Linked DNA regions of Homo sapiens: regions 1, 3 and 4 are each linked to region 2. Evidence: promoter capture Hi-C in 16 types of primary human blood cells and fetal thymus (Javierre and others, 2016). All regions are on one chromosome and are shown on one strand. Each heading gives the region's core, a stretch centred on a gene start or on the middle of the fragment in contact. The rest is flanking DNA. Distances are from core to core; before and after follow the strand shown. Region 1 overlaps RETREG3 (reticulophagy regulator family member 3). Region 2 holds the start of EZH1 (enhancer of zeste 1 polycomb repressive complex 2 subunit). Region 3 has its middle 28 kb from the start of G6PC1. Region 4 overlaps PTGES3L-AARSD1 (PTGES3L-AARSD1 readthrough).

The links. Contacts are between HindIII fragments. The CHiCAGO score rates a contact against its expected background, and 5 or more counts as called.
Region 1: a contact is called between a fragment that was not itself captured here and the fragment with the promoter of EZH1 in region 2, in 1 of 17 cell types (erythroblasts). The highest score is 6.3, in erythroblasts.
Region 3: a fragment that was not itself captured here is called in contact with the fragment with the promoter of EZH1 in region 2 in 2 of 17 cell types (endothelial precursors and erythroblasts); the score reaches 7.9 in endothelial precursors.
Region 4: a contact is called between a fragment that was not itself captured here and the fragment with the promoter of EZH1 in region 2, in 1 of 17 cell types (endothelial precursors). The highest score is 5.3, in endothelial precursors.

The regions. Positions count from the first base shown.
Region 1 is chr17:42,597,099-42,603,729 of GRCh38, forward strand. All of the region lies in intron 1 of RETREG3 (reticulophagy regulator family member 3), which reads right to left. Among named protein-coding and RNA genes, the nearest start is that of RETREG3, 9.0 kb to the right of the region's middle. The HindIII fragment of the contact is 4,096 bases long and covers 1-3,590 here.
Region 2 is chr17:42,742,473-42,750,017 of GRCh38, forward strand. EZH1 (enhancer of zeste 1 polycomb repressive complex 2 subunit) reads right to left here and starts at 2,568. Exons shown (of 21, transcript NM_001991.5): 1 at 2,539-2,568. RefSeq lists a silencer at 2,146-2,725. The HindIII fragment of the contact is 3,072 bases long and covers 1,386-4,457 here.
Region 3 is chr17:42,925,299-42,932,495 of GRCh38, forward strand. No RefSeq gene overlaps it. Among named protein-coding and RNA genes, the nearest start is that of G6PC1, 28 kb to the left of the region's middle. RefSeq lists enhancers at 3,151-3,727, 3,617-3,766. The HindIII fragment of the contact is 1,916 bases long and covers 3,312-5,227 here.
Region 4 is chr17:42,944,456-42,951,639 of GRCh38, forward strand. It overlaps PTGES3L-AARSD1 (PTGES3L-AARSD1 readthrough), which reads right to left. Exons shown (of 17, transcript NM_001136042.2): 17 at 6,071-6,273. The coding sequence ends at 6,138. It overlaps AARSD1 (alanyl-tRNA synthetase domain containing 1), which reads right to left. Exons shown (of 12, transcript NM_001261434.2): 12 at 6,071-6,273. The coding sequence ends at 6,138. Among named protein-coding and RNA genes, the nearest start is that of AARSD1, 16 kb to the right of the region's middle. The HindIII fragment of the contact is 4,442 bases long and covers 1-3,724 here.

The DNA of each region.
Region 1 (6,631 bases), core at 293-2,792, 150 kb before region 2:
CCTGATCTCAAGTGATCCGCCCGCTTCGACCTCCCAAAGTACTGGGATTAGAGGCATGAGCCGCTGTACCTGGCCAGAAGAATCTATTTTTTCTTTTTTTTTTTTTTTGAGACGGAGTCTTAGCTCTGTCGCCAGGCTAGAGTGCAGTGGCGTGATCTTGGCTCACTGCAACCTCTGCCTCCCAGGTTCAAGCAATTCTCCTGCCTCAGCCTCCTGAGTAGCTGGGATTACAGGCATGCACCGCTACGCCCAGCTAATTTTTGTATTTTTAGTAGAGACGGGGTTGCACCATGTTAGCCAGGATGATCTCGATCTCCTGACCTTGTGATCCACCCACCTCGGCATCCCAAAGTGCTGGGATTACAGGAATGAGCCACCGCGCCCAGCCAGAATCTATTTTGTGTGTGTGTGTGTGTGTGTGTGTGTATATATATATATATATATTTCGTATATATATTTTTGTGTATATATATATTTTGTGTGTATATATATATATATATATATATATATATATATATATATTTTTTTTTTTTTTTTTTTTTTTTTTTTGAGACAGAGTCTCACTCTGTCACCCAGGCTAGAGTGCAGTGGCACAGATCTCCACTCACTTCAACCTCCGCCTCCAGGGTTCAAGTAATACTCCTGCCTCAGCCTCCTGAGTAGCTGGGGTTAAGGTGTGCGCCACTGCGCCCAGCTAATTTTTGTATTTTTAGTAGAGACGGAGTTTCGTCTTGTTGGCCAGGCTGGTCTCGAATCCCTGATCTCAAGTGATCAGCTCGCCTCAGCCTCCCAAAATGTTGGGATTACAGGCATAAGCCACCGCGCCTGGCCAAGAAACGTTATTTTATACCACAAAGAAAACTCTTCTTCCTCTGAAGTTTTTTTTTTTTTTTTTTTTTTTGAGACGGAGTCTCGCTCTGTTGCCCAGGCTGGAGTACAGTGGTGCGATCTCGGCTCACTGCAAGCTCCATCTCTCGGGTTCATGCCATTCTCCTGCCTCAGCCTCCCGAGTAGCTGGGACTACAGGCGCCCGCCACCACGCCCGGCTAATTTTTTGTATTTTTAGTAGAGACGGGGTTTTACCATGTTAGCTAGGATTGTCTCGATCTCCTGACCTCATGATCCACCCGCCTCAGCCTCCCAAAGTGCTGGGATTACAGACGTGAGCCACCGCACCCGGCCTCTTCCTCTGAAGTTATTATTGTGGCTTGTTCCAAAAAAAGATAAATCTGGGACTAAAATTGATTTATGGACAAGGATTAATCTTGTTATGGAAGATGCTCACAATTTTAGCCTTCAAGACCCAGAAAATATACCCTTTATGAAACTATTGGCTTATCTTCATCTGCAGGATGAAATCCCATTACCCCGTCATAAAAGGGCCTTCATGATCTGGATCCTGCCTCTCTCCCCACACTGATTCCCTCCCTTTGTTTTTTATATTTCAGTTTTATCAAACTACTTGCAATTCCTTAAGTATCTTACTAGATTGGTGTTTTCCCTATCTGAATGTCTTCTCTCTCTTACCACACCTTTCGGCCCCATTTCCTTAACATTTATCTTGCAAATCACAGCTTAGATATCTTCCTGTTTGTTATTATTACCTGTCACGTTATATCGTGAACACAAACACACATGAATTTACTTGAGAGTAAAGTTTGTGTCTTATTTTTTTCTGTAACTGGGCTTCTTACCACAAGGCCTTGGCATGTAACAGGTACTCAAAGGTATGTTGAATTGAATTGAAGCATAGCTTATAAGAATGGAAGGTAAGGGCTGTAACAAGCAATTTAAATAGTCCAGGTCTTAGAAAACAGTCTTTTTTTTTTAATGTTTACCAGTTTATTATAAGGGATATGTTTTTATTGCCATCATCTCTGGAAAACCAACCTTCTTAGGAGAGCTTAATATCCTTTCCCTACCCTAGTTTCTATTTGTGTTAGTAATCGTGCTCTGGGAAGGGGAAATTGCCAACAGTCTGGCAAGCCTCCCTAGAGAGCCCTTTCAAGTACTCTGGAGAAAACAGCGATGCCATGTGCTGCTGCTGGGGAAGGGAAGCAGCAGCACTGGGGAGCAAGAAACCCTAGAGCTCTTCTCCTTGGCCTTGTTAAATGTGCTTGTTTGTTGGGATGATGCACTGGCTTTAGAGAGAAGATCAATGGCCTGAGGCAGCTCTAGAGGCTTATTTCTGTTAAACTGCTTTTATTCTTTAATCTTACATATAGTCACAGTATCCTTTAGGTGGTAGGCTGGAAAAATTGAAATAGGGTTGTTGGCTGGGCACAGTGGCTCATGCCTATAATCCCAGCACTTTGGGAGCCTTAGGTGGGTGGATAACCTGAGATCGGGAGTTTGAGACCAGCCTAGCTAACATGGAGAAACTCCATGTCTATTAAAAATACAAAATTAGCCGGGCGTGGTGGTGTATGCCTGTAATCTCAGCTACTCAGGAGGCTGAGGCAGGACAATCGCTTGAACCCAGGAGGCAGAGGTTGCAGTGAGCTGAGATTGTGCCATTGCATTCCAGCCTGGGTGACAGAGTAAGGCTCCGTCTCAAAAAAAAAAAAAAAAAATTATACAACTAACATGAATTCATGTTTATCGAAAAAAAAGTACAGGCATGGTGGCTCACGTCTGTAATCCCAGCACTTTGGGAAGCCAAGGCAGGTGGATCACCTGAGGTCAGGAGTTCGAGACAAGCCTGGCCAACATGGCGAAACCCCGTCTCTACTAAAAATACAAAAAATTAGCTGGGCATAGTGGCGGGCACCTGTAATCCCAGCTACTCAACAGGCTGAGGTGGGATGACAGCTTGAGTCCGGGAAACTGAGGTTGCAGCGAGCCGTTATCGTGCCACTGTACCCCAGCCTGGGTGACAGAGCGAGACCCTATCTCAAAAAACAAAAAAGCAAAACAGAAAAAACCACCTAAACACTAACAAATTGGTTTGTGGGGAAAAAAAGAGTTTAAAAAAAAAACAACAAATAAAACCACACACAACAGGCCACATGTGGTACCTAAAGCCTGTAATCCCAATACTTTGGGAGGCCGAGGCAGGAGGATCACTTGAGTCAAAGAGTTTGAGACCAGCTTAGGCAACACAGCAAGACCTCATCTCTACTGAAAAGAAAAACATTAGCTAGGTGTGGTGGTGCACGCTTGTACTCCCATTTACTTGGGAAGCTGAGGTGGGAGGATTGCTAGAGCCAGAAGGTTGAGGTTGCAGTGAGCTCTGATTGTGCCACTGCACTCCAGCTTGGGAGACAGAGCAAGACCCTGTCTCGAAAAGAAAAAAAAAAGTATCATTTATGACATTTATAAGAAAATTGGAAATGTGAACACTGACTAGAATCATTAATTTTTTGCATGTGATAATGATGGCAGATGTTTCTTAAAGTCTCTTTTTCAGAAAAATATACTGAAATACCTAGATTAAATGATATGACACATCAATAATTTGTGTCAAACAATAAGGAAGACGTAGAAAAGAACTGGGGTATGGAAGACACAAAATTGGCCAGGAATTGAAAAAAATAATATTATGTACATGGTGGCACACAATATTATTCTGCCTACTTACACATGTTTTAAGCTTTCCATAATAAAATATTTTTAAAATGATCCATTATCCACATATGTACTCTAAAAAGTGTGAAGACAGGCTATTCTCTTCATTAAAAAATTCACATATAAAAACACTATGGTTTTAAAACTTTTTCACATAATACATAGACAATTAGCCTGATGTGGTGATGAACTCCTGTGGTCTCATCAGCCATGAGGTGGAATGATCACTTGAGCTCAGGAGTTCCAGGGTACAGTGAGCCATGATCACACCACTGCAATCTAGCCTGGGTGACAGAGTGAAACCTTCTCTCAAAAAAAACAATGAATGGGCCAGGCGCAGTGGCTCAAACCTGTAATTCCAGCACTTTGGGAGGCTGAAGCAGGTAGATCACTTGACATCAGGAGTTCAAGACCAGCCTGGCCAACATGGTGAAACCCCATCTCTACCTAAAAATACAAAAATTAGCTAGGCATGGTGGCGGGTGCCCGTAATCCCAGCTACTCAGGAGGCTGAGGCAGGAGAACTGCTTGAATCCGGGAGGCGGAGGTTGCAGTGAGCTGAGATTGTGCCACTGCACTCCAGCCTGGGCAACACAGGAAGACTCCATCTCAAATAAAATAAAATAAACTAAGACGGTGGCTCAAGCCTGTAATCCCAACACTTTGGGAGGCTGAGGCAGGCAGATCACGAGATCAGGAGATCGAGACCATCCTGGCTAACACGGTGAAACCCTGGCTCTACTAAAAAATACAAAAAATTAGCCGGGAGTGGTGGTGGGCGCCTGGAGTCCCAGCTACTCGGGAGGCTGAGGCAGGAGAATGGCGTGAACCTGAGAGGCGGAGCTTGCAGTGAGCCGAGATCGCGCCACTGCACTCCAGCCTGGGCAACAGACAGAGCGAGACTCTCTCAAAAAAAAAAAAGAAAAGAAAAATAAACGAAAAATAAACTAAGAAGGTTCCAACTTTTTTTTTTTTTTTTTTTTTGAGACGGAGTCTTGCTCTTGTTGCCCAGGCTGGAGTGCAGTGGCGCGATCTCGGGTCACCACAACCTCTGCCTCCCAGGTTCAACGGATTCTCCTGCCTCAGCCTCCCAAGGTAGCTGGGATTACAGGCATGCGCCACCATGCCCGGCTGATTTGGCATTTTTAGTAGAGATGGGGTTTCTCCATTGTTGGTCAGGCTGGTCTTGAATTCCCGACCTTAGGTGACCTGCCTGCCTCGGCCTCCCAAAGTGCTGAGAATTATAGGCATGAGCCACTGCGCCCAGCCAAAAGTTTCCAATTTTTTGATGTAATAAAAGCTGAACTATACATCACTGAGCATGTTACTGGGTCAAAGGCATTAACTATTTTAAACAAATAGCTTTATTGGTCGGGCACCGTAGCTCACACCTGTAATCCCAGCCTTTGGGAGGCCGAGGCAGGTGGGTCACTTGAGGTCAAGAGTTCAAGACCACTTTGGCCAACATGGTGAAACTCCATCTCTACTAAAAATACAAAAATCAGCCAAGACATGGTGGTGCACGCCGGTAGTCCCAGCTACTTGGGAGGCTGAGGCAGGAGAACTGCTTGAATCTGGGAGGCAGAGGTTGCAGTGAGCTGAGATCATGCCACTGCACTCCAGTCTGGGCCACAGAGTAAGACTCCGTTTCAAAAAAAAAAAAGTAAGAAAATAGCTTTATTGAGATAATGGTTTGTATACGATAAAATTCTCTTTCAATTCATCTGCCAGCAGCAGAGATGAAAAAAAAATCACAATGCTGTACGACTAATAGCCTTATGTAATTTCAGAACATTTTCATCACTCCAAAAGAAACCCATACCCATTAGTATTCTTTCTCCATTTCCCCCAGCCCTGGAAAAGCTTCTTAAGTGGCTTAAAATATGTTACCAAACTACTTGCTAGAAAGGCTGTCCAATTTATGTTCCTATCAGCCATATGCCCATTTTTCCATATTTTCCCCAGAATTAATTATGATCATTAAAAATACTTAAGGCCAGGTGTGGAGGCTCACACCTGTAATCCCAGCACTTTGGGAGGCCAAGGTGGGTGGACTGCTGGAGCCCAGGAGTTCAAGACCAGCCTGGGCAACATGGTGAAACCTTGTTTCTACGAAAAATACAAAACAATTAACCAGGTGTGGTGACACACACCTGTAGTCCCCACTACCTGAGAGGCTGAGGTGGGAGGATGGCTTGAGCCCAGAGGTTGAGGTTGCAATAAGCCATGATCACACCACTGCTCTCGAGCCTGGGCGACAGTGAGATCCTGTCCCCCGCCAAAAAAAAAACTTAAGATAGAAATTAGTAAATAATTTCCATTTACATATATTTGAATTCTTTTCTTATTTGTGAGAGTGAAATTTTATATATCCATTGATTTTTTTTTCCCCTTTTGTGAACTGTCCCTCCACTCTGTCAGGGACTAAAATCCAATTAAATGATCAGTCTAAATAAAATATCCCTGGAATAGCAATTGGTGTCCAGAAACATCGTGAGAAATTCCAGAACCAAACATAAACTTTTGTGATTAACTATACCATGGAGCCTCACTATTAGTACCAGTAAATTAAAGTTTGCTATAATCATAAATAATGACCACATGTCTATTTTCAAAGACATGATTTCTAGGTTCCTTTGTTATTACAGATTAAGATTGTCTCAAGGGCACTTCAAAACAAAGCATCCCATTCTACAGGGACAGAAAGCCTGTTACTGTACAGCACTTGTGACCGCCTGGTTAATGAGCCCAAGTCACCGGTAAATTCAAAGGAAAAATTAACCCAACCTATATCATGCAGTGACAGTTGTTGCTTGCAAAAAAACCAGAAATGAAATCAGCTAGCTGCTAACAGTGGAGAGAAAGCACTCAACCATACAATTAGGGCAGATAAAAACTAAAGGTAAAGAGAGGGGAAGTAAATAAACCAAGGCATCCTTGGGAGTCTTCTCGGCTCACAAAGACAAGAACCCTGCAAAGACTATCATCAGGAACATTCACTCAACAGATTTCATTAGAAATCTGATGTGTAGCCGGGCGCGGTGGCTCACGCCTGTAATCCCAG
Region 2 (7,545 bases), core at 1,318-3,817:
ACCATCATAATGAAGAAGTCATTTACACTTTAAGGAATTTTAAGCTGGGCCTTAGCATCAAGTTCCACGATTAGCATACAAGTACTCTGCCAGTTACTGACAATACTAGCATCCGGATCACCTGACTCCCAGTGCCAGAAATTTCCCCACTATTTATTCCACAAATATATGTTGAGCACCTACTATTATACTTAATAGTAGTATCTACTATGTGTTACCATTTTAGGTGTTTGGGGTACATCAATGAATAAAACATATATCCCTGCCTTTGGAGTTGATTCATTATGTTTGTGACACACAACAATAAGCATAAACCTTGACAATGATAGCATTATTACAGTTTTATAGATAGTCCTTTCTCCTATTATGTATGTGCGTTTTTAAGTACTTCTCTCTCCCTTTTTTTTTTCTTTTTTGAGATGGAGTCTTGCTCTGTCACCCATGCTGCAATGCAGTGGTGCATGTCGGCTCACTGCAACTTCCACCTCCCAGGTTCAAGCGATTCTCGTGCCTCAACCCCCTGAATAGCTGGGATTACAGGCACCCACCACCACGCCCAGCTAATTCTTGTATTTTTGTAGAGAAGGAGTTTCGCCATGTTGCCCAGGCAGCTCTCGGACTCTTGACCTCAAGTGATCCGCCTGCCTTGGCCTCCCAAAGTGCTGGGATTACAGGCCTGAGCCACTGTGCCAGGCCTCCTTTTTTTTTTTTTTTTTTTGACAGAATCTCACTCTGTTGCCCAGGTTGATGTGCAGTGGTGCAATCTCGGCTCACTGCAACCTCCACCTCCCGGTTCAAGCGATTCTAATGCCTCAGCCCTCCCGAGTAGCTGGGACTACAGGCGTGTGCCACCACACCTGATTAATTTTTGTATTTTTAGTAGAGATGGAGTTGTCCCATGTTGCCCAGGCTGGTCTCAAACTCCTGGGCTCGAGTGAACGGTCCACCTCAGCCTCCCAAAGTGTTGGGATTACAGGCATGAGCCACCGTGCCAGGCTTTTTTTTTTTTTCTTGAGACAGGGTCTCAGGTGCTGTCACCCAGACTGGAGTGCAGTGGCAGGATCAGAGCTCATTGCAACCTTGACCTCCCAGTCTCAAGCAATACTCCTGCTTCAGCCTCCCAAGCAGCTGGGACTATAGGAGAAGGCCACCACATCTGGCTATTTTTTTTTTGTAGAGATGAGGTCTCGCTATTGTTGCCTGAGCTGGTCCCAAACTCCTGGGCTCAAGCTATTCTCCTGCCTGGGCCTCCCGAATGCTGGGATTTCAGATATGAGCCACCGAGCCCAGTCTAAAGTACTTATCTCCTAACACACACTCTCTCCTATGTAAGTAATCTCTTTTATCAGTGGCATATCTGGGGATTCCAAGACTTAAAATAGACAAGCTTTCACAGAAACCTCTAATAGGGTTAGCACCTTCTCAGGCTGGAAACCTCCTTCAATATCAGTTTCCTAAATTTAAAAAACATGGGGTGTGGGAATTTTTTTATTCAGCGGCAGTATGGCAGCAAACGTGGAGGAGACTCGCGTTTTCATTGCCATCCTTGCACCCACCTAATTGTTAGTGTACCTGAGCTCCTTTGCTTTCATCCTCCCCTGCCAAGCGTCAGGTTCCTATCGGCCTGGGCTACATCACATACAACCCTGTATTTCACCCTCCATATTCCTTCACATTCCACGGGGGGCACTAACATCCTTCAGGTATCCCTTCCCTTCCCTGCTCAAGAAACAATTCCTCAGTAGTCACTTTTTATTGAAATAAAAGTTTGTCCCACATTTCCTAACAGGCATGTCCCAAATACAACACCTTGTCTGTGCTTCAAGGCACTTTTATTTATATCATTTGATCCTCGGTTGAATGGTGGGGGTGAGCGATCATTGGCGTGAGACCAAAAGTCTGGAGTGAAGGAGATTCTTGCTCAGGGCCAGGCCTGGGGTGAGGCGACCGAGGCACCCAGGACGCACGTGAGGAGGCGCTCACTGCACTTGCGCGACCCTGAGTCAGTGCTCCTTTACACTTTGTGCCTTGGGAGCCTTACTCACCTCACCCTAGTCCCGGCCTTGTTTTTACTGCTACCCCTCCTCAACATCCCCGAAAGCCATCGCAAGATCAGCCCCGGTCTCTAGCCCTCCCCAAGCACAGCTCCAGGTCCCCAGAGTCCACCTCGCTAAAGGCCCCCGCAGGTGCCACCGCCCTCCCGCGCCCTTTGGGCGCTGGGGCTCCCGCCCACCGGCCCACACCGCCATCCAACGGGATTCCCCGTCCCCGAGCCCGCCCCCGCCGCTCCTCCTCCCGGGCACACAGCCCTCGCAGCCCCAGACGCTGTCCTCGCCTGGGTCTCTCTCGCCCCGTCGCCCCCATTCCCCCACCCTCGGAATGAGGAGGGGCGCCTGCTACCCCCGGCCAGGCAGGCAGTGTGTCCCTCGGATTCCTTCCAATTTCCTGATCCCTCCGCCTCTCCCTCCCTCAGGCCCAGGGCGGCGAGGGGAGGAGGCCCGGCCCCACCGCCCGGCCCAGGCTTGTTTACTCACTCACCCTCCATCCCGAGCCGCGGGTCCCGCTGCTAGGACGCATGCGCGCCGCGGCCCCACCCCTGCGCCGTGCCCCGCCCCGCGCCTCCTGTCGGCGCGTGCGCATTGACTTACCCGTGCCGCGCGGACGCACTACTGTCATTTGCCGCCAAAACCCCGCACTCAGGAGTCCTGGCGGGTGCAGCCTCCCAGACGGCTTCCAAAGCGGCGCTGGCAGGGGAGGGGAAGGGCTCTGGGGAAACCTTCGCAGAGCCACTAATATCTTCCTGAAGACCCTATTCAGCGGATTTGCCATCCCCACGCGCTGGTGACAAGCCACATCTCACTTCAGCGTTTGAAGCCAACCCAGATCACCTTCATACCGATGCTTCACCCCTACCAGTTCTCCAGACACCGGTCTATGGGTTCTAAGCCCTTTATTTATGTCTGATCTCCCTATTTCTGTTCATAGTTTTCTAGTCACTTAGAATCAAAATTATAGCCTTGTATCGAAATAAATCCCCACAAGACACCTGCTAGTTACAAAGGGAAAAAAATAGCAACTTTACAGATAAGAATCTGTCAGACACCACCTTAACTAAGTGATCAAAGTTAGCATCACTAGTGATAAGAGGTATTGTTTTCTTCTTCTTTTTTTGCCGGGGGGCGAGGCTGGACGGAGTCTCGCTTTGTTACTTACACAGGCTGGAGTGCCGTGGCGCGATCTCGGCTCACTGCAACCTCTCCCTCCCGGGCTCAAGCAATTCTCCCGCCTCAGCCTCCCAAGTAGCCAGGAATACAGGTTCGTGCCACCACGCCCGGCTAATTTTTGTATTTTTAGTAGAGATGGGGTTTCACCGTATTGGCCAGGCTGCTGTCAAACTCCTGACCTCAAGTGATCTGCCTACCTCGGCCTCCCAAAGTGCTGAGATTACCGGCATGAGCCACCACGCCCGGCCTCCCTCTTCTTTTTAAGGAGACAGGGTCTTGCTGTGTTGCCTAGGCTGGTCTTGAACTCCAGGGTTCAAGCCATCCTCCCACCTTGATTTCCCAAAGTGTTGGGATTACAGGCATGAGCCATTGCCCCCAGCTGAGAGGTATTCTTACCAGGTCCCTCTGAACATGATGCAATGAGAAGCGCACAAAATCACTTCTGTGGTATTCTTGACGAACACGCATAAGCTGATTTTTTGTGCGTGTTGTTTGTTTGTTTGTTTTGAGACAGTTTCACTCTTGTTGCCTAGGCTGGAGTGCAATGGTGCAATCTCGGCTCACTGCAATCTCTGCCTCCTGGGTTCAAGCGATTCTCCTGCCTCAGCCTCCCAAGTAGCTGGGTTTACAGGCATGCACTACTATACCCGGCAAATTTTGTAATTTTAGTAGAGATGGGGTTTCACCATGTTGTCCAGGCTGGTCTCGAACTGCTGACTCAGGTGATCCCCCCACCTCTGCCTCCCAGTGCTGGGATTACAGGCATGAGCCACAATGCCCAGCCTGCATAAGCTGAATTTAATTATGAGGAAACATCAGACAAATCCAAAATGAGAGACAATCTACAAAATAACTGGCCAGTATCTTCAAGTGTCAAGATCATGAAAGACAAGGGGTGAGAAACCATCTCAGATTGGGAGACTGAGGAGATATGACAACTAAATGTAATGTGTGATCCTGGCTTGAATCCTGGTCCAGAAAAAGAACACCAGTGGGATAATTTGATGAAATTAGAATAAAATCTCTAGATTAATTAATAGTATTTTATCAATCTTATTCCTGGTTTTAATCATTGTAATTGAGGAAGTTTGATGGACATATAGGAACTCTACCATATTTGCAACTCTATTAAATCTGAAATTATTTCAAAATATAAATTTTTAAAATTACAAATTAAAATGCAAAATAATAACATCTTGATTTTGATTTTGTCTCAAAGTGTATAATTAGAAAAGCTTATAATGTTCATTTTTTCAAGTAATCTTCATAACAACTGTATGAAGTACGTAGGGCAACTTCAGTTTACACATCAGGTTATTCTGGCCTAAAGGAGTTAGAAGACTTGCCTTACACAGATGAATAATTCTGTCAGGTCTTAAACTCAGGTCGCTGGATTCCAACCAGATTTAGTGTTCTTTTCCTTATATAAAAACTTTGCTGTTTTTCCCTTGCCCCTATCCATTTAACTACCAAATCAAGGAAAATATTCCTTTATACTGGCATTCCTTTCTGTTCCCGCTGCCTTCAAGATAAGTGGTTCTCAAACTTGGCTCACACTTGGGGAGCTTGGGGAACTTTGTTTTTGAGATGGAGTTTCACTCTTGTTGCCCAGGCTGGAGTGCAATGGCGCGATCTCAGCTTACCGCACGCAACCTCTGTCTCCCAGGCTGAAGCGATTCTCCTGCCTCAGCCTTCCCGAGTAGCTGGGATTACAGGCATGCGCCACCATGCCTGGCTAATTTTGTATTTTTAGTAGAGACAAGGTTTCTCCATGTTGGTCAGGCTGGTCTTGAACTCCCGACCTCAGGTGATCCGCCCGCCTTGGCCTCCCAAAGTGCTGGGATTATAGGCGTGAGCTACCGTGCCCAGCCAAGGAGTTTTAAAACTACTGATGCCCACCTCCCACACCCAAAAGTCTGATTAATTGATCTAGGGTATGGCCTGAGCTTCAAGAGTTTTTAAAGCATCCAGGTGATTACAATGTGTAGTGAAGTTTGAGAGCCACTGCACAACATTAATAATTGTTGGGAGAAAGACTGTGGCTTTAGCTAGGGAGAGCTGTCCAGAAGATCTGAATGTCAGGAGAGAGACTAGTGAGAGATTTGGAAACCATCAACATATTGATGGTAACTGAAGCCACAGAAGTGGACAACACTGCCTTAGGAGAAGATGCCAAATAACAAGAGAGTAGATACAAAGACATTTTGACATAACAAAGTATGGTTACAGAAATATTTTCAGGTGGAAAGGAAGTTGAAGGGATTTATGCCAAAGCTGTAGATCAGAATCTGATCTACAGCCTAACCTAAGTTCCCTCTCTTCATTAAACCTTCTAGCCCTCCTGGATTTCCCAGCCCTTCAACTTCAGTATCACTTTACACTCACTACTACACTGTATATCTCTTTCACCTCCACCATGATAGGACTACACACAGGGCTTAGTAACCCTCATTCATGGAAGGATTACAAAAATAACTTTCAGCCAGGCTCAGTGGCTCACACCTGTAATCCCAGCACTTTGGGAGAATGAGGCAGGCAGATTGCTTGAGTTCAGGAATTTGAGACCAGCCTGGGCAACACGATGAAACCCCGTCTCTACAAAAAACACAAAAAAATTAGCCAGGCATGGTGGTGTGGGCCGGTAGTCCCAACTACTCAGGAGACTGAGGTGGGAAAATCGCCTGAGTCTGGGAAGTCAATACTGCAGTGAACCATAATTGCATCACTGCACTCCAGCTTGGGCAATGGAATGAGAACCTGTCTCAATAATACTAACAATAATAATAAAAACAACTTTCCACACCACCAATAAGCGTGAGGTTCTTGGAGGAAAATTTGTTTGCCAGTTGCTTCCTCCTTATTGTGATGAGAGAGTTTTTCCTGAGACCAGACCCTTTCTTAGCTGACATTTCCTGAGACATTATCAGCCAAACTTTAGCTAGCTCTTCTTCTACAATTCTTTTTCTTTTGCAACCCTTCAGGTCTTTGTCCTGTAAATTCGTAGAAAAACTGCTGGCAAGTGGTCAGCAACTGGACCTTTGAAAAACAGTACAATCACCCCTGCCCCACTCCTCCCGGCCCCACCCCCAGGCAGTTAATGGGAGAAGGGAATAACTGTGTCACTCCTGGCTTCCAGTTGCTCATCTTGCTTTAAATTGGAGGCCTCTGGGGCTGAAAGAAACTGGACAAAGTGTGCTAAGTAGCCTAATAGGGCTGGTTCTTTTTCTGAAAGTTCCCTATTGCAGAAAAATAAAATTATGTGTTTAATTTTTGAAACCTGATGCCTGATTTGCCTTGGCAGCTACTCTCCTGGGCTTGGCCCAGAGTCCAGCAACCCTAGTATACTGATTAATACCAGCTCAACTTGCTCCCTGGGGAAGAAGAGCATTATTTACTTGACCGTTTTCTTAAATCCTTTTTAATTTCCTTATATTTTAGCATAATCTTCTTGGCTTTAACATGCTGTATCTTTGACCACTGGCCCCAGCGAAGCCTTAGGGAAGACCGCTCTGCTCTGTACACTCATATCCCCATCACAAAGCAAGATTGTGTTCAAGCCCATGATTAGAAATGACATGTCACGTGTTCTAGTCCTTCTGGGACGGGCGAGTTCTAAGTGTACTTTCGTCCCCTGCTGGTCCTCAGGCCACTGGTAGAAAGGGAAGGAGATGATGCTCCTCAGAATCCAAACAGAGCTCTCTGCACTAGTATTCCTGCCTTCCAACCTGAGCCCCCTTCGGACAGTGACCCATTGGCCTGTTGCGCCCCTCCCTTGTAATGCCCACAGAGATATCAAACAGCAATTTTCAGAGGGGACACAGCAGACTGAGGAAAGGCTGGGCCACAGACAGTCCCTGACAGGGAACTGTAAACACAGCTGTGGAGATGGGAGCAAACCATCCTCCCTCCCCCAGTTCCAACCCAGAAGCAGGGAAAGGCCACCCTGCCATGAAAAAACAAACAAGAAAACAAAGCAAAGCACAACCCAAAAGCTGCACGAAGGTCACCAGAAACTGGGGCTGCTGCCCAGGACTTGGTGGGGCCCGTTGAAGTGCCAGACCCCTCCCTGAACACTTAGAGGTGAAGGCAGCTCCAAAGCAGTTGAGATCTGGACATTACAGAGCCTGGAAACAGGGCTCAATTTTTGAAGCCTCTCCACTCCGGACACTTTGTCCTCTGATCGCAAAATCCTAGCTGTCTGTCTTACATACTTAGCTCCTGACCCCTAGTTGCTTAGGGATCATAATAATGAATTCAATTCAGCAAGTAAGAACAGGCCCGCAATAAACCCTTGTCCATGGCTGTTATAAGTTTAAACTCT
Region 3 (7,197 bases), core at 3,020-5,519, 180 kb after region 2:
CCCTTATGATTACCACTTATGTAAGCAGGGTCCATCTTTTAATTTAATAATTTTTCAGCTGGAACAATTCGTTCATTTCACAAGTATTTATCAAGCATCTGCTATATTCCAGACATTTCTGGAATTAAAATAGCTAGTATAGGCCGAGCGCGGAGGCTCACGCCTGTAATCTCAGCACTTTGGGAGGCCGAGGCAGATGGATCACCTGAGGTCAGGAGTTCAAGATCCGTCTGGCCAACATGGTGAAACCCTGTCTCTACTAAGTACAAAAAATTAGCCAAATGTGGTGGTGCATGCCTGTAATCCCAGCTACTTGGGAGGCTGAGGCAGGAGAATCACTTGAACCTGGGAGGCAGAGATTGCAGTGAGCTGAGATTGCGCCACTGCACTCCAACCTGGGTAACAAGAGTGAAACTCCTTTTCAAACAAAAAAAAATTTTTTTTTTTTGTAAAGACAAGGGCTCTCTATGTTGCCCAGGCTGGTCTTGAACACCTAGACTCAAATGATCCTCCTGCCTCAGCCTCTCAAAGTGCTAGGATTACAGGTGTGAGCCACCACACCCAGTTTAGGTTCTTAATATTTTACCCCAAACCTGGTCATCTCTACAATTCTGTATCTCAGTGAATGGTAAGTCCATCCATCCACACGCTATCTTCCTCCTTCCCATCCATCCTCCATCCATCAAATCCTCTTACTTTTACCCCTTAAATATCTCTAAAATCTGCCATTTCTTGCCATTTCTACTGCTGCCTACCCCAGATAAAAGTCACCACCATCAATGGCAATGGCCTGCAATGGCCTTCTTTTTTTCTTTTTTTTTTTTTGAGACGGAGTTTCACCTTGTTGCCCAGGCTGATCTTGGCTCACTGCAACCTCCGCCTCCCAGGTTCAAGTCATTCTCCTGCCTCAGCCTCCCAAGTAGCTAGGATTACAGGCCCATGTCACCACGCCCAGCTAATTTTTATATGTTTAGTAGAGACGGGGTTTCACCATGTTGGCCAGGCTGGCCTAGAACTTCTGACCACAGGTGATCTACCTGCCTCGGCCTCCCAAAGTTCTGGGATTACAGGTGTGAACCAACGAGTCCAGCTGCAATGGGCTTCGTAAATGTTCCCTGCATTCACTCTCGCCCTTTTCATATCCATTCACCAGAAGACTGATGGAGTGATCTTTTTAAACCCAAAATCTGATATCACACTCTTGCTTGAAACTTTTTAATGGATTATCACTGTTCTTAGGATATAAATCTTTATTATGAAAAACTTGGCCAGGCGCCGTGGCTCATGCCTGTAATTCCAGCACTTTGGAAGGCCGAAGAGATAGGATTGCTTGAGTCCAGGAATATAAGACCAGCCTGAGCAACGTAGTGAGACCCCCGTCTTTATTTTTTGCTTTTTTGTGTGTTTTTTCATTTCTGCTTTTTTTTTTTTTTTTTAAGACGGAGTCTTGCTCTGTTGCCCAGGCTAGAATGCAGTGGCTTAATCTCAGCTCACTGAAACCTCCACCTCCCAGGTTCAAGCAATTCTTCTACCTCAGCCTCCCGAGTAGCTGGGATTACAAGCACACACCACCACATATGGCTAATTTTTATGTTTTTAGTAGAGACTGGGTTTCACCATGTTGGTCAGGCTGGTCTTGAACTCCTGACCTTAAGTAATACACCCGCCTCGGCCTCCCAAAGTACTGAGATTACAGGAGTGAGCCACCCTGTCTGGTCTCACTTCTTTTTGTATCTTTTTCCTTCATCTTTTATTTTCTACCCATCTCTCCATTTTTAAATTAATACATACATAAATTTTAAAAAGGAAAAAAACTTGTACATGAATATTCAGAGCAGGATTATTCATAATAGCTAAAAAGCAGAAACAACCTGAATGTCCATCAACTAATGATAAATAAACAAAATATAGCCTAGCCATAGAGTGCAATATTATTTGGCCATGGAAGGAATGAAGTATGAATACATGCTAGAGTGTGGATGAACCTTGAAAACATTATACTAAGTGAAAGAAGCAAGGCACAAAAGATCACATACCATATAATTCCATTTATAGAAATGTCCAGAATCGGCAAATCCATAGAGACAGAAAGTAGATTGGTGGTTGCCTAAGGCTAGATGTTTGGGGGAAATGGAGAGTGACTGCTGAAGGCTGCAGGGTTTTTTTTTTAGGGTGACGAAAATGTTCTCAAATTGACTGTGGTTATGTACAACTCTGTGAATATACTAAAAACCAATGAATTGTATTTTTTTCTTTTTTTAATTTCTTTCTTTTTTTTTTTTTTTTTTGAGAGAGTCTCACTCTATTACCCAGGCTGGAGCACGGTGGCATGGTCATAGCTCACTGCAGCCTCAACCTCCTGGGCTCAAGAGATCCTCCCAACTTAGCCTCCAGAGTAGTTGGGAATACAGGTAGATACCACAATGCCTGGGTAACTTTTTAATTTTTCATAGAGATGAAGTTGCACTGTGTTGCTCAGGCTGATCTCAAACTCCTGGCCTCAAGCAATCCTCCCACCTTGGCTTCCCAAAGTGCTGGGATTATAGGCATGAGCCACCATGCCCGGCTGAATTGTACATTATTTATTTATTTTATTTTATTTTTTTGAGACAGAGTTTTGCTCTCATCCCCCAGGCTGGAGTGCAATGGTGTGATCTCAGGTCACTGCAACTTCCGCCTCCCAGGTTCAATCAATTCTCCTGCCTCAGCCTCCCGAGTAGCTGGGATTACAGGCACCCACCACCACACCAGGCTAATTTTTATATTTTTAGTAGAGATGGCGTTTCACAATGTTGGCCAGGCTGGTCTCAAACTCCTGACTTCAAGTGATCCACCCACCTTGGCCTCCCAAAGTGCTGGGATTACAGGTGTGAGCCACCGCACCCCAGCCACAGCATTTCTTTTCTTTTCTTTTCTTTTTTTTTTCTTTTTGAGATGGAGTCTCTCTCTGTTGCCCCAGACTGGAGTGCAGTGGCGCAATCTCAGCTCACTGCAACCTCCACCTCCTGGATTCAAGTGATTCTCCTGCCTCAGCCTCCCAAGTAGCTGGGATTACAGGCATGTGCCACCATACCCAACTAATTGTATTTTTAGTAGAGACGGGGTTTCAGTATGTTGGCCAGGCTGGTCTTGAACTCCTGGCCTCAAGTGATCCACCTGTCTCTGCTTCCCAAAGTGCTGGGATTACAGGCATGAGCTACCTCAACTGGCTACCAAATTGTGCATTTTAAATGTGTGAATTTTGTGGTGTGTGAATTATATCTCAATAATGCTCTTACCAAAAAAAAAAAAATCTTTATATGGCCTCTGAAAGCTTACCTCAGCTGGACCTTGTCTACCGCACCTCACCTGGTCTCCTTCACCTCATTCCACAAAGCACAGCCAATGTCATCTTGGTTCCTCCAATGCAACACACTCCAGCCCTCCTCCGAGCTTGGGCTTTTACACACCCCCCTTCTTAGAACACTCTTCTGCCTCTTCACATAATTCAGTCCTCCACATTGGTATCACTTTCTCAAGGAAGCCTCCCTGCCCACCCACCATGAGTCATGATCAAGTTCCTCTTCTGGGCCTGCCAAAGCACCCCTTTTACTTTGCTCTCTACCAAACGTCACTTTGTGATTATTTGGATCATGTCCGTCTTCCCCACTAGACTAGGCCCCATGAGTGCAGCTCCATGCCTGCTTTGCTCACTCTTGCACTTAAACCCTGTGCCTAGCCCTGGCCTAACACATGAGGAGGACTCCAGATATCTTGGTTGAATAATAAATGAGCAATATATTACTGTTTGCCCCTAACTTGGAAAACAAATGATAGGTTCAACAATTCTAGAGCTCCACAAATGACTCAGCAAAAACATGTTCGGAGGCACTCCCAACGTGAAATTAGAAGGTTGGAAACTCAGAGGACGGGACAGGCTTAGATAGAAACATTGGCCTCTTCCCAGGTAAGTTCTCCCCAGGAGGTGGGGAGCAAACTCTCTGAGCAGCCAGTTACAGGGAACTCATGACTAAGCTCTGTTGCTGTTTATCAAGATACACACTGACTCTCAGAAGTTCTAGCGTGAACCAAATCCTGCTTCAACCCCATGGGCTTTCAGTGTAGGACTTTTTCTTTTTGTTGGTGATCACACACCCTACTGGTGGCTTAACCAATTACATTGCCTCAGCCCCTGTGACACTCCAGCTCCGCGTCCCCTTTATGATGCTTCAAATATCATAAAAGCAGAGAAAAATCATATGTCATATATCAGAAAATCATATATCAACTTTTTTTTATTTTGAGGTCTTTCACACACTGAACTTATTTTAATCATAATTGTCAATTATAAATAAACATAATTACTATGTTCCTTTTTTGATGTCAAATTGTTGCAATTTGGACAGTGGCTTCCTTATCCTTCTACCATTGCTGGCCTAAAATCCTTGTGTTCTAGGCCCATTCCAAATTTTCCTTGTTCCAAGACACAGAATCAGCCACCCACTAAGAAGTCTCATTTCCTTTTGATGGGTGCACGAGAGTGGGAGGTTAGCAGAAGAAATGCTGTTAATGGGCTAGGTGCAGTGGCCTAGCCTGTAATCCCAACACTTTGGAAGGCTGAGGCAGGAGGATCACCTGAGGTCAGGAGTTCGAGACCAGCCTGGCCAACATGGGGAAACCCCATATCTACTAAAAATACAAAAAATTAGCTGGGCGTGGTGGTGTGTGCCTGTAATCCCAGCTACTCAGGAGGCTGAGCCAGGAGAATTGCTTGAACCCAGGAGGCGGAGGTTGCAGTGAGCTGAGATCATGCCACTGCACTCCAGCCTGGGCAACAGAGAGAGACTTCATCTCAAAAAGGAAAAAAAAAAAAAGAAGAAGGAAAAGAAATGCTGTGGCCAGGGCATGGTGGCTCACGCCTGTAATCCCAGTACTTTGGGAGGCTGAGGCAGGTGGATCATGAGGTCAGGAGCTCAAGACCAGCTTGGCCATTATGGTGAAACCCCATCTCTACTAAAAATACAAAAATTAGGCAGATGCCTATAATCCCAGCTACTCAGGAGGCTGAGGGAGGAGAATCACTTGAACCTGGGAGGCAGAGGTTCAGTGAGCCAAGATTGAGCCACTACAGTCCAGCCTGGCAACAGAGCGAGACTCCATTTCAAAAAAAGAAAAAAGAAAAAGAAAAAGAAATGCTGTTAATGAACTGTATTTTAGGGTCAGAGCCAGGAAATTATATTTCTCTTAAAGCTTATGGGTTCACAATAATGTTTCCAATTGAACTCTATGTTGTAATTTTTTATTCAATATAAAATATTTTCAGGCCAGGCCCGGTGGCTCATGCCTGCAATCCCAACACTAGAAGGCAAGACGGGAGAATTGCTTGAGACCCAGAGTTCAGGACCAGCCTGGGTAACATACCGCAACCCCCTCTCTATAAAAGAAAAAAAAGATATAATTGTTTTCATTTATTTTATCTGCAATATTCCTGCATAGAGATTTAATCTTCACCCTCACTATAATTGCATTTCCTTTACTAGCCCTCATTTGCCTTGCCAACCGCCATTATACCGTCCCTTTGCTGATGGTGATGTCTGTTGGCTTGGTCTCCTTGTTCTGGTTGACCAGACTATCCTCCTGTTATAAACAGCAGGAAACACAACCCCAAAACACACATACACACACACTGGAAGCCTACATGAATTTCACATGCATCGTTTGAGGCAGCCTCCTGAGAGCCAGTCATCCTTCCAAGACAGTGACTGCTTCGGGAGTAAAATCATAACTGAGAGAGTCTCAGGGAACTTTGTTGTTGTTTTACTGAGTTGACATTTGGGAAGTTTAAGGTCTTTATTGCTCTGACAGAGTATTTTAACTTAATTTTTTTTGTTGAGACAGAGTCTTGTTATGATGCTCAGGTTGCTCTCGAACTCCTGGGCTTGAGTGATCCTCCTGCCACAGCCTCCTGAGCAGCTAGGATTACGTAGGTGCACGTCACCATACCTGGCTCTTTATCTTGCTTTTTGTCATTAGAAAAGTATCACACAAATGAATTACAAAGAAGATCATTTCATTCAGAAATGTTGGAAACTACTGAAAAGTATAAAGATGAAACTAAAAATCACTCCAATCTCATCATCCAGAAATAACTGAGGGCCAAGGCACAGTGGCTCGCATGTGTAATCCCAGCACTTTGGGAGGCTGAGGCAGGAGGATCACTTGAGCCCAGGAGTTCAAGACCTGCCTGGGCAATATAGGGAGACTCTATCTCTACAAAAAAACACAAAAATACGAAATTACAAAAGAAACAAATAACTGAAGCTAACATTTTGAAAAAAGAAGTAGGCCGGGCGTGGTGGCTCACGCCTGTAATCCCAGCACTTTGGGAGGCCAAGGTGGGCTGATCACCTGAGGTCAGGAGTTCAAGACCAGACCGACCAATGTGATGAAACCCCGTCTCTACTAAAAATACAAAAATTAGCTGGGCATGGTGGCACATGCCTGTAATCCCAGTTACTCGGGGACTGAGACAGAAGAATCACTTGAACCTGGGAGGCAGAGATTGCAGTGAGCCGAGATCGCACCATTGCACTCCAGCCTGGGCAACAAGAGTGAAACTCCATCTCAAAAAAAAAAAAAAAAAAAAGAATACTGAGAATATGAAAAACCTTTTTTTTTCTAGATCCATCAATGCCTCTTGAAGAGAGTATCAAAAATCAATATGAAACTGAAAGAGCTACTGAACTGCAGACAAAAATTTCATCAGATACATCAGAGATTTCTCTAAAGGTTAAAAAGAAACGTGAGAAATATTAAAAGTCAATTGCCTGGTGTGGTGGCTTGCACCTATAATCCCAGCTACTTGAGAGGCTGAGGCAGAAGAATCCTTTGAGCCCAGAAGTTAGAGTTTACAATAAGTTCTGATTGCACTACTGCACTCCAGCCTGGGCCACAAGACAAGAAGACTCTGTCTCAAAAAAAAAAAAAAAAAAAGAGTCAGTTGTACTATTCTGCTTTGTGGTTTTGTGTATTAATCTGCAATTTATAGAGTTTTAATGAAAAGTCATCAGTGTTGGTAGAATGCTGATTTAAATGTATTTATGAGAAAATGTCACCTTGTCACCTGAGTTAAAACACACAATCAAAATGGCAGGGTGAAAACTGTGGACTCCAAAGTTCATGCTTTCACTAATTTCTTTTCTTTTTAAAAAAACATTT
Region 4 (7,184 bases), core at 254-2,753, 200 kb after region 2:
TGTCGTATAAACAAATGAATTCTGTGATTATGTATCATATGCACAAGTCAACAACAACACAAGTTATGTATTATGAAAGGGAGAACTTGCATTTTCACAGAAGAAAATGTTGATTCCTCCCTTCTTTTCTGAAACACTTGGCCTCTTAAATAATTAACTAATTTTAATTGATACATATAAAATTGTAGGCCAGGCACAATGGCTCACGCCTGTAATCCCAGCACTTTGGGAGGCTGAGGCGGGTGGATCACCTGAAGTCAGGAGTTCGAGACCAGCCTGGTGAACATGGTGAAACCCTGTCTTTACTAAAAATACAAAAATTAGCTGGGCATGGTGGTGGGTGACTGTGATCCCAGCTACTCGGGAGGCTGAGGCAGGAGAATCGCTTGAACCCAGGACAAGGAGGTTGCCGTGAGCTGAGATCATACCACTGCACTCCAGCCTGGGCGACAAGAGCGAAACTCCGTCTCAAAAAAAAAAAACTACTCTCTTTGCAATTTTCAAGAATACAATACATTAGTTTTCAGTGGTTTTGTTTTTTTGAGATTGAGTCTTGCTCTTTTGCCTAGGCTAGAGGGCAGTGGCACAATCTCGGCGCAATCTCGGCTCAGCAACCTCTGACTCCGGAGTTCAAGTGATTCTCCTGCCTCAGCCTCCTGAGTAGCTGGGACTACAGGTGTGTGCCACCATGCTCAGCTAATTTTTGTATTTTTAGTAGAGATGGAGTTTCACCATGTTGGCCAGGCTGGTCGCGAACTCCTGACCTCAAGTGATCTATCTGCCTCAGCCTCCCAAAGTGCTGGGATTACAGGCATGAGCCACCACGCCTGGCCTAATACATTGTTATTAAACACCTATAGTCATTGTGTAGTACTACAGTTATCTTAAATTTATTTCTCCTATCTTGGCCAACCAAGGTGGCTCAGGCCTGTAATCCCAGAACTTCGGGAGGCCAAGGCAGGAAGATCACTTGAGCTCAAGAGTTCAAGACAAGCCTAGGCAACATGGCAAGACCCTGTCTCCACAAAAGTAGAAAAAGTAGCCAGGTGCGGTGGTGTGTGCTTGTAGTCCCAGCTACTCAGGAGGCTGAAGTGGGAGGATCGCTTGAGCCCAGGAAAGTCGAGGCTGCAATGAGACAAGATTTCCATTGCACTCCAGCCCAGGAAACAGAGTAAGACCTTGTCTAAAAAAAAAAAAAAAGCAAACAAGCCCACAAGCAGACAAAAAAAAAAAAAAAAAATCAAAAAACTTATTCCTCCTATCTAACTAAAAGTGTGTATCCTTTGACCAACAACTCCTCAACCCCTCTCCCTCCTCCAAACTCTTGGCTTTGAGGTTGGTGTTTTAAAATGAACAGGGATATTTACTAACAGGCCTCTGCCACAGGTCACTTCTGCAGGGAGTTTATGGCTCAGCAAAAGAGAAAGCTGTCCCTGTGAGAGCCTCTTCTGCTCCAGACACAACTCCAGGTCAGTTAACTAAGTCCTACTTATTCCTTAGTTTGAAGCCTGGCACTCTGCCTGTAGTATTTTGCACAGAAGATACAGACCTTTCTAAAGAAAGAAGGAAATTCCTCCATCACTCGTTCCCAAACATCCCTACTTGCCCTCTGTTGAGAACACTAGTCATAGTTTGGATCAAATTCAGGAAAGGAATGGGAGACAGAGACGCTTTCTGAAAAAGATTTTTTTCATTAGGGCAAACACTGTCTGTTTTCCTTTTGGTACCAGGTTTTAAATAAACCCTAGAGTTTATTTAAGTTCTCATTCAGGGACAGATCTGGCATTCTAGCACAGCTTGGCCGACTCACTGGTTTCCACTCAGGACTCCAAGGCAGGGTGGAGCACAGGACACTGGCACAATGCCTTCCTGAATTCAGTCTGTGTGTGTTTGTTGTTGTTGTTGTTGTTGTTGTTGTTTTTGAGACGGAGCTTTGCTCTTGTTGCCTAGGCTGGATGGAGTGCAACGGCGCGATCTTGGCTCACTGCAACCTCCGCCTCCCGGGTTCAAGCAATTCTCCTACCTCAGCCTCCAGAGTAGCTGGGATTGCAGGCATGCGCCACCACACTTGGCTAATTTTGTATTTTTAGTAGAGGCGGGGTTTTTCCCATGTTGGTCAGGCTGATCTCAAACTCCCGACCTCAGGTGATCCACCTGCCTCAGCCTCCCAAAGTGTTGGGATTACAGGCATGAGCCACAGCGCCGGCCCTGAATTCAGTCTGTCTACTGCTCTGGGTCTCTTCCACCTGATACCTTTCATCTTTCATACTAACATCTGTTCTAGTACCTACATGCATCACCTTAGTGGAAGCTACAGCAGCTGTCTTCAGCAATTTATGGGTACGCACATAAAAAAATTTCCTTAGAAGCCAAGGAGTCCCCCTTACTATTTCTGTGCCGTAAAGTGGGTTATAGTAACATTCCAGAATATATAACCTGTGTGTGTACCTAAAACTTGATTACTCCAATAAATGAACTCATTTTGTTTCCTGGTGAACCTCATAAAAGACAATCCACCCCTTCCCCTGAACACACTCTGTTCTTCTCCCCCTCTCCCTGGGGCATTGGATTAGGGCCTCAGTGACAGGCAAGAATGACATCACCAGTTCAAAAACTGCTGCTTTATTTTCTCTTTCTTTATACAACCAATTACCATTTTCACATAATTTGCTCAAGTGTTTATGGCTTTTCTTAATTATTTCATAAGGTTCCTTCCTTCTTAGGACACCCAGTTCATGTGTCCATTTTCAGGTCAAGAAACTGAAGCTCAGGGAGTCTCAGCAGGGGGACCAGACATCCAGGCTACCTTAACACCGTCTGGGTTTCTGACTGTTGTTCTGGCATGAGGTTTGCCTAACTCTGGATATTAAAATTACATGGTTGCTCTAGGTCTAAGTGACAAGAACCCACCTGAGTGGTAGTGAGCAAGAGTGGCCTCCCAGGTCACTGTTCTTGTTGTTGCACCTGTGTTCTGAATCTTTGTGTACCCCTAAAAATTCATATGTTGAAATCCTAACCCCCTAAGTGGTATCAGGAGGTGGGCCCTTTAGCAGGTGATTAGGTCACGGGGGCAGAGCCTTCGTGAATGAAATTAGTGCATTATAAAAGAGGCCCGAGAGGGCTGGGTGCGGAGGCTCATGCCTGTAATCCCAGCACTTTGGGAGGCTGAGGCAGGCGGATCACCTGAGGTCAGGAGTTCGAGACCAGCCTGGCCAACATGGTGAAACCCCATCTCTACTAAAAATACAAAATATTAGCTGGGTGGGATGGCAGGCGCCTGTAATCCCAGCTACTCGGGAGGCTGAGGCAGGAGAATCACTTGAACCTAGGGGGTGGAGGTTGCAGTGAGCTGAGATTGCACCATTGCACTTCAGCCTGAGCAACAAGAGTGAAACTCCATCTGTCTCAAAAAAAAAAAAAAAAAAAAAAGGCCCAAGAAAGACCCCTTACCCTTTGCACCAAGGGTGCAAAAAGATGGCTATTCCTGAACCAGTATTTGAACCTTCACACCAGACACTGAATTTGCCAGCTTCCCAGCCTCCACTGTGAGAAATACATTTTTGTTGTTTATAAGCTACCTAGTTTTTGTTATTATAGCAGTCAGATCAGACTAAGGCACACCCTAAAGAAACAAACACAGAGAGGGACAGAGATCTCACACAGAGACAAATTCACATGGGTCTCTGTTCAAGATCCTGCCTGAGTCCTTCTACAAAAGTAAGGAAGCTTCTGTGAAGCAAACATTTCCCTTTCTCCCACTAATGGACCCATTTTGTATAGCATGAGTGTTACACTATGGTTTTATCTAAAACATGGCACTCTGAGAAAAGCAAGATGCAGAAGAGTATACAATGTGCTACCATTTATGTTTAAAAAGAGGGAAGATTTATGTACATCTATTTTTTAAAATACTACCAGAGGGATATATAAGAAATTGGTAACAGGCTGGGCATGGTGGCTCACGCCTGTAATCCCAACACTGGGAGGCCAAAGTGGACAAATTGCTAGAGCCCAGGAGTTCAAGACTAGTGTGGGCAACACGGCAAAGCACTGTCTCTAGAAAAAATACAAAAAATTAGCCAGGTGTGGTGGTGCACACCTCTAGTCCCAGCTACTCAGAGGGCTGAGGTGGGAGGATCACCTGTTCCCAGGAGGTTGAGACTGCAGTAAGCCATGATTGTGCCACTGCATTCCAGCCTGGGCAACAGAGTGAGACTATATCTGGAAAAAAAAAAAAAAAAAAGGCCAGGCATGGTGGCTCATACTTGTAATCCCAGCACTTTGGGAGGCCGAGGCCGGCGGATTACCTGAGGTCAGGAGCTCGAGACCAGCCTGGCCAACATGGTGAAACCCCATCTCTACTAAAAATACAAAATTAGCCGGGCATGGTGGCACATGCCTGTAATCCCAGCTACTCGGTAGGCTGAGGCAGGAGAATTGCTTGAACTCGGGAGGCGGAGGTTGCAGTGAGCGGAGACTGCGCCATTGCACTCCAGCCTGGGCAACAAGAGCGAAACTCCATCTAAAACAAAAAAATTAAGTGATTGATTCTGGAGAAAGAAATTGGGTAACTCAGTGGCAGGGTTGAAGGAAATTTTTGGTAGCACACACCTGTAATCCCAGCTACTTGGGTGGCTGAGGCACAAGAATTGCTTGAACCCAGGAAGCGGAGGTTGCAGTGAGCCAAAATCATGCCACTGCACTCCGGCCTAGGTGGCAGAACAAGACTCTTATCTCCAAAAAAAAAAAAAGTTCCTTTCAGAGTCGGAAGAACAAATAGCTGAACACAGCCACAGCCACAGCCACAGGTTATCTCCCCTGGATGTCAGCTTTTGTATTTCTCCTCTGTTATTTCATCCTGGCTGTCTAGGCCTTAACCATCTTTGTTCTAGCTAAAGCTGTGACTGGATCTTTGTTTTATCACCTTTCCTGGATGTGCAAATCCAGTATTTCTACCCAGGTCTGTGAAACTTCAAAGCCTGTGCTCCTGAACATATTATGCTTCCATTTGCTCTATCACTAATGAAAGATGAGCTTAAGTCTTCCGTTGATTACAGATTTGTCCGTTTCTCCCTTGAGATCTGTCAATGTCTGCTTTATGTATTTTGAGGCTGTTATTAGATGCATACAAATTTAGAACTGTTATATTTTTCATCATTACACGTCCCTCTTAATCTCTGATTCTTACTTTAACCCTTTTCCTGTTTGCCCTGAGAATACTCGCCAGTGATGCTTGCAACTGCAGCACTTACCCCAAGAAGGTGACAATGCTGTCAACATTCCACAGTGATACTGTGATTGAAGTAGACAACAGAAATGGAAAGAAAACTAAGAAGCCAGCTGGGCACAGTGGCTCATGCCTGTAATCCCAACACTTTGGGAGGCCAAGGTGGGCGGATCACGAGGTCAAGAGGTGGAGACCATCCTGGCCAACATAGTGAAACCCCATCTCTACTAAAAATACAAAAATTAGCTGGCATGGTGGTGCGAGCCTGTAGTTCCAGCTACTCGGGAGGCTGAGGCAGGAGATTAGTTTGAACCTGGGAGGTAGAGGTTGCAGTGAGCCAAGATCGCACCACCGCACTCCAGCCTGGTGACAGAGCGAGACTCCATCTCAAACAAAAACAAAAAACAAAAACAAAAAAATCAGCCAGGCATGGTGGCACACACCTGTAATCCTGGCTACTCTGGAGGCTGAGGCAGGAAAATCCCTTCAACCCGGGAGGCAGAGGTTGCAGTGAGCTGAGATCACACCACTATATCCAGCCTGGGCAACAAAGCAAGAGTCCATCTCAGGGGGTGGGGCGGTAGGGGCGGGAAAAAGCCATGTGCCTTTGTGGATTATAACAAAATTATGGGAGCAGTGGACTCAGCTGATCAGATGTTCATTTCTTATCCAACTGAGTGCAAAAGCACAAGGTTTGGTATAAATTAATCCACCACCTTCTAAACATTACAGTGCATGAACTAAATTAGAAAATTATCTATTTATAAACGGAAAGTAACCACACAAGCACAATGGAGTATACAGTACGAATTAGTCATATAAATACAAGTGGTAGCGCAACCATTCTGAGTCAATCTATTTTATTGACCAAAAGATTCCTGTGGAAACAGGAGGTGAGTGCCCTAAGCCCTCACTCCTTAGCACTCTGCGTGCTGATGTAGTCCTGGAGAAGCGCCTGCGCCTCCATCCGCCGGCTCATCTTGGTGGCCTTGCCCTGAAAACGGCCTTTCTTCCCTGCTCCTTTGCCTTCCAGGACCTCAGCCACCCTGGGGAACAGAGGTATAGTCAGGGAGACTTTGAGGGAAAAGTCACAAAAAAAAACAAGGGCAGCTCTGAGTCTTTTTCCAGGGACTGGGAGAGGGATAAGAAGAGTAGATGACTTCTAGGAATCTTTCTTGAAAACACTTGCACATAGGCTGGGCATGGTGGCTCACACCTGTAATCCCAGCACTTTGGGAGGCCAAAGTGGGTGGATCACCTGAGGTCAGGACTTCAAGACCAGCCTGACCAATAGGATGAAACCCCGTCTCTACTAAAAATAAAAAAATCAGCCGGGCATGGTGGTATGCGCCATAATCCCAGCTACTCAGGAAGCTGAGACAGGAGAATTGCTTGAACCCGGGAGGCAGAGGTTGCAGTGAGCCGAGATGGTGCCATTGCACTCCAGCCTGGGCAACAAGAGTGAAACTTTGTCTCAAAAAAACACTTGCACATATGCACAAAGATATATGTACCATCATCACATAAGAGTGAATAACTGGAAACAACATCAGTGTCTATGAATTGGGCTAGATAAATTATGTTAATCTCCAGAGAGCAGGGTGAGCACCTGTAATCCCAGCACTTTGGGAGGGCAAGGCAGGTGGATCACTTGAGGTCAGGAGTTCGAGACCAGCCTGGCCAACATGGTGAAACCCTATCTGTACTAAAAATACAAAAAATTGGACGGGTATGGTTATGTGCACCTGTAATCCCAGCTACTTGAGTGGCTGAGGCAGGAAAATTGCTTAAACCTGGGAGGTGGTGGCTGCAGTGAGCTGAGTAGCCTGGGCTCTCCAGGCTGGGCAACAGACTAAGACTCCATCTCAAAAAACAAAAACAAACACATTTCATAAAAACAAAAACAAAAACATACATGTGAGATGTGGAGCCAAAAGACCTTCAACTGTCAAACTGG